2 separate regions of the Homo sapiens genome follow, and region 1 is linked to region 2. Evidence: promoter capture Hi-C in human tissues and cell types (Jung and others, 2019). All regions are on one chromosome and are shown on one strand. Each heading gives the region's core, a stretch centred on a gene start or on the middle of the fragment in contact. The rest is flanking DNA. Distances are from core to core; before and after follow the strand shown. Region 1 has its middle 80 kb from the start of ALOX12. Region 2 holds the start of XAF1 (XIAP associated factor 1).

Evidence for each region. Contacts are between HindIII fragments. The study calls those that stand out against the background at their distance.
Region 1: a contact is called between a fragment that was not itself captured here and the fragment with the promoter of XAF1 in region 2, in 2 of the 25 tissues and cell types used here (H1 embryonic stem cells and liver).

What each region holds. Positions count from the first base shown.
Region 1 is chr17:6,914,828-6,917,527 of GRCh38, forward strand. No RefSeq gene overlaps it. Among named protein-coding and RNA genes, the nearest start is that of ALOX12, 80 kb to the right of the region's middle. RefSeq lists an enhancer at 1-37. The HindIII fragment of the contact is 5,172 bases long and covers 1-2,700 here.
Region 2 is chr17:6,754,730-6,757,429 of GRCh38, forward strand. It overlaps XAF1 (XIAP associated factor 1), which reads left to right and starts at 1,317. Exons shown (of 7, transcript NM_017523.5): 1 at 1,317-1,381. The coding sequence starts at 1,350. RefSeq lists an enhancer at 974-1,493. The HindIII fragment of the contact is 6,790 bases long and covers 1-2,700 here.

The DNA.
Region 1 (2,700 bases), core at 49-2,548, 160 kb after region 2:
AGCATCTCCTGGTAGAATAACATTGCACCCAGGAAGAAGGAGGCTCTATGATCTCAGCTATTACCACTGCCTGCATCACTCCGGCTAACCAGGAGGTCCTGAGTCCACATGACCAGCTCATTACTACTATAACTAGCATTCAAGAAAGCCAACATACTATGGCTACCAATAACCAAGGAATTTCAGAGTCTACGTCACTCCCCTGCTACCCCCAGTAGAGCTGGTGTTGCTACCCACTTCTGGGAAACTGGCATTCACAACTGGCATTTCCCAACACCAGCCTGGAGGGTGGCAACGTCACTGGGCAGCTAGACCCAGAGGAGCAACAACATTCACAGTAGCGTGGCTCACAGGGACTCCCACTCATAGGGAAAGGGGGAGTGCGCCCCATCAAGGGAAGACCCTGTGGGACCAAAGAATCGGGATGGCAGGCCTTGAGCATCAGATCCTTCCGCTGGTGGAAAGCTTCCTTGAGCAGAGGCGCAGCTGAAGTGCTAGGCTCAGCGGGGAAAGCCTTCAGCTCTATCGCAACAGTCAGACAGCTTTGGTGCATGGGAAGGATCTTGGAGAAGAGGCAGTCTTTCCCCCCTTGTTCACCACCATATGCACAGTTGGGACTTCTCCCACAGGAGCTCGACATGGATGCAACTATAGACGGCCATTCTGGAACACATCAAGGCGACTGCATCCCCACAAGAGGAGCACCCTCCAGGATCAGGCTTGCACAAGAAACAGTCACAATTCCTCTCTATTTGGAACACCAACACCTACAGATGAAAAGAGGTGCCTGTCTGATCTGAATAGCCAGAGCGCTGGGACAGGAGCATATCTAAGAAGTGGAAAACGTCCCTGCTGACCTTGCAGGGGAGCTAAGGTGGCTCCAACCCTTCTCCCTGATAAGACCTCACTGTGACTCACCGAGGGCTCCTCCAGCCACCTCTGTCAAGCCTGGGTCTTCATTTACCCACTTGCTTTACCCACAACCGATTCCTACTCAGGGACACCTCTTCTACTGGCCTGAAACCTGAACCATCAAACCAGTAAATAAAATACTGGGGGAAAATAAATAAATAAAAAGTGCATGAGATGGGAGAAGGAGATAAGCTTTAAGAAACCTCTACCATTCCAACCCCCTAGGAGATAATGGAATGGAAAACCAAACACTGTATGTTCTCACTTATAAGTGAGAGCTAAGCTAGGAATACGCAAAGGCATACAGAGTGATATAACGGACTTTAGAGATTCAGAAGGAGATTCAGGAGGGTGGGAAGAGGACCAAGGGAACAAAATCTATGCATTAGGTACAATGTACACCATTCAGGTGACGGGTGCACCAAAATCTCAGACTTCACCGCTATATAATTCATCCATGTCACCAAAAACCACCTGTACCCCATTAATAAATTAATAATAAAATAAATTTTTAAAAAAAGTTTTAGCTCACTGAGTGAGCTTGCAGCAGAATGGAGACAGCAAAGGAAACAGTCAGTGAATTTGAAGATAGCTCAATAGAAACTATGCAATTTGAATGACATCAAGAAAAAATTGTTTAAGTAAATAGAGTCTCAAGGACATGAAGGACAAAACCAAAAGGTCTAACATTCATGTCATCAGAGTCAAAGAAAGATAAGAGTGTGTGGTGCACAAAAAAAATAAATAACGACTTCCAATTTTTCAAATTTCATAAAAGATATAACTTACAGCTTCGAAAATCTCAACAAATCACCAACAGGATAAAACAAACAAATCCTCATCCAGATAATCACAATCAAACTAGTGAAAACTAAAGCCAAAGAAAAAAATCTTGAAAGCAAGCAGAGAAAAGCAATGTATTTCCCATAGAGAAATAATAATTTGAATGACTGCAGGGTTCTCATCAAAAACAATGGAGGCCAGAAGATTCATCTGACAAAGCACTAATATCCAGAATCTACAACAAACTCAAACGAATTAGCAAGAAAACAACAATCCCATCAAAAAGTGGGCTAAGGACATGAATAGACAACAATTCTCAAGATATACAAAATGACCAACATATGAAAAATGCTCAACATCACTAATCAGGAAAACACAAATCAAAACCACAATGTGATACCACCTTACTCCTGCAAGAATGGCCATCATCAAAAAAATCAAAACATAATAGACGTTGGCACGGATGTAGTGAACAGGGAACACTTCTACACTGCTGGTGGGAATGTAAACTAGTACAACCACTATGGAAAACAGTGTGGAGATTCACAGAGAACTAAAAGTAGAACTACCATTCGATCCAGCAATCCCACTACTGGGCATCTACCCAGAGGAAAAGAAGTCATTATACAAAAAAGGTACTTGCACACACATGTTTATAGCAGCACAATTCGCAATTGCGAAACTGTGGAACCAACCAAAATGCCCATCAATCAACAAGTGGATAAAGAAACTGTGATATGCATATACACATACATACGATGGAATACTACTCAGCCATAAAAAGCAACGAGTTAATGGCAGCAACCTGGATGCAACTGGAGACTATTATTCTAAGTGAAGTAACTCAGGAATGGAAAACCAAATATCCTATATTCTCACTCATAAGTGGGAGCTAAGCTATGAGGATGCAAAGGCATAAGAATGACACAATAGAATTTGGGGACTCAGGGGGAAAGGGCGGGAAGAGGGTGAAGGATTAAAGAACACAAATTGGGTGCAGTGTTT
Region 2 (2,700 bases), core at 67-2,566:
CGCCCACCTCGGCCTCCCAAAGTGCTGGGATTACAGGCATGAGCCACCAAGCCAAGCCCACTCGTTTTTCATTCTTGATATTGACAGACTGCCCAGAGACAGACAGGAGTGGGTAGTGAGGGTCAGAAGGATTAAGGAGCTTGCCTAGCCGATGAGGAAGGGAACAAGATAAGATGCAAACCTCAGTCTCTGACTCTCAGCCAAGTGCTCACTACCCCAACTAGCTGTCAAATGAGGTGGATGGGGCCTTGGTTAGGTACATAGACACCTGAGTCATATCAACCTGGTGTGAATCCCAGCTCTGATGTTGAGCGATTGGCCTAGCCTCTCTCTGCCTCCATTTTCTCTTTTTTCATTTCATTTTTCTTTTTTGAGGCAGAGTCTCACTCTGTCACTGCCTCTGTTTTCCATAGCAAAATGGAGTTAATAATGCTTACATGAGGGATTAAAACGAAGACAATGCCTACCTAATGCTTAGAATGGTGCCTGGAACATAGGAACAATGTTGAAACAGTCTTTCATTCTTCCCTCCTATCACTGTGATCATCAGTACCACCACACACTGCTTCTCATTTAGTGCCTGAATTTTAGAGCCTGCCTGGAGGCTGGAGCCCTGCCTGGACATTTCCCTTAATCTTGTTATCCTCCTCAGAGAGGCGGCACCCACCCCATTGGCAGACGCCACGGGAATTCTCTGGGCCTGCTTGTCATCACTCCAGATGTTGTTTAGAGTTCTTCTGTTAGCACAGCTGTTTCTAGGGTCTGGAAAAACTCTAAGGACCCCCAGGAGGATACACACCAGATTGGGTCTGGGCTCACACCACCCTGCATCCCCAGAGCCTCCCTGGACGCTGTTTGCAAGGTCCTCACCGCCTGGAAGTCCAGGAGCCATTTTTAGGGAACAGCATTCAAGCTCAACATGGCAAGTTCCCTCTTTCCTGCAGGGGAGGACCAGAAGGGAGCCGGAGATGGGGGAGAAGGGTGGGAGGTGGATGGTTTGGAAAAGGGATGGAGACCCAGACGGAGAGAAGCCAGCCAGCCAGGGTGAGGGAACAAGCTGCTGTGCTGCCCAGGAGAGGCCTGGCCTCAGGCTGCCAGCCTCAGGGAGGTAGATGCGGCTGTGACAGCAGCAAAGAATGACGGCCAAGGGCGACAGCAGGGGCTGGCCATGCTGTAAAGGGGCTTCTTGGGAGGGTCCAGCCTCAGGAATCAAGGGGAACTCCTGAGCCGAGAATTCTGAAGATCTCCTCCCTCCCTGAAGCTGTGGGCTGGGCCATCGGAAAACTTTCAGTTTTGTTTCCTTGCCTGCAAGAAACGAAACTCAACCGAAAGCCTGCAGAGAGCAGAACATGGAAGGAGACTTCTCGGTGTGCAGGAACTGGTAAGAAAGTGCTTTCTCCAGCGGCAGACCCGGGCTGGCGAGGGAGAGACGTAGACGACATAGGGCTGTTTCTGAAGGGAGCAGAAAGTGGTTCCTGCATAAGAACACTTAGGAGGACAAGCAGCTGGAGACCGTGGGCCCCAAGGGTAGGAGGGTTTAAACTTGGTAATCTCTGGGTGGGGGTGGGCAGCATTACCTCCACTTCACTGCAGCCCCTTTCCCCCAAATGTTAGGCTTTCTGGGACAGTTCTGAAGCCAAATAGCCCGGCCAGTGGTCCCAACTGGGCTACTCATACTTGTGAGACCTTGGGTCCTAATTTGGGGTTCTGATACTATGACCTTCACACCCATCTGTGAAAGAAAGTGTCCCACGGAGATTCTCCAGGACTACTCTCACCCTCCTTGGAAAGGGAGCCGTGGGGCGGGGCAGGGGGGACAGAGCAGGGGGCTGGGACCACACCTCTAACGGGAGGGGGGGCGCGGAATCTGACCGATCAAAAAGCCCCATTCTCAAAGCTCCCTACCTGTGACAGGGACCTGAGTGGACCCTCCCCAGAGAGCTTTGCTCCAGCCAGACCCTTCAAGTACTCTGGTTTCTCAACCAGCCCAGGAAGAGCAGGGGGAGAAGGGGCCAGGTCAGGCAGAGGAGAGAGAGCAGAGGAAGGGAAGATGATGCTGCCTGTGTGCCCGCTGCCTGGGCAGAAGAGGAGTGAGGCTTTGACAGTCCCTCTCGGAGCACGTCCCCTGTGCCAGGAACATGGGCATGTAACTCTTCTCGTCCCCTGGGCCTTTACGGCTACAGCCACCCCATTTCCCTTCTCCCAAGCTGCCACAAGCAAGAGCTGATGGAAATGAAAGGAGTCATTTCTTTCTTTCTTCTTCTTTTTTTTTTTTTTTTAAGATGGAGTTTCGCTTCTTTTTGCCCAGGCTGGAGTGCCTGGAGTGCAATGGCGCGATTTCAGCTCACTGCAACCTTCATCTCTCGGGTTCAAGTGATTCTCCTGCCTCAGCCTCCCGAGTAGTTGGGATTACAGGCGTGCACCGCCATGCCCGGCTAATTTTGTATTGTTTTAGTAGAGATGAGGTTTCACCATGTTGGCCAGGCTGATCTCTAACTCCTGACCTCAGGTGATCCACCCGCCTCGGCCTCCCAAAGTGCTGGGATTACAGGCATGAGCCACCACACCCAGCCAAAAGGGGGCACTTCTTGGCAAAAAGGACGGTTAGAGAAAAATGCCCTGCCCAGGAAGTGGGAGGCTCAGAACCCTTCCTTCACTGTGGTCTCCAGGAAGAACCTCGGAGTCTCTGTGAGTTAGCGC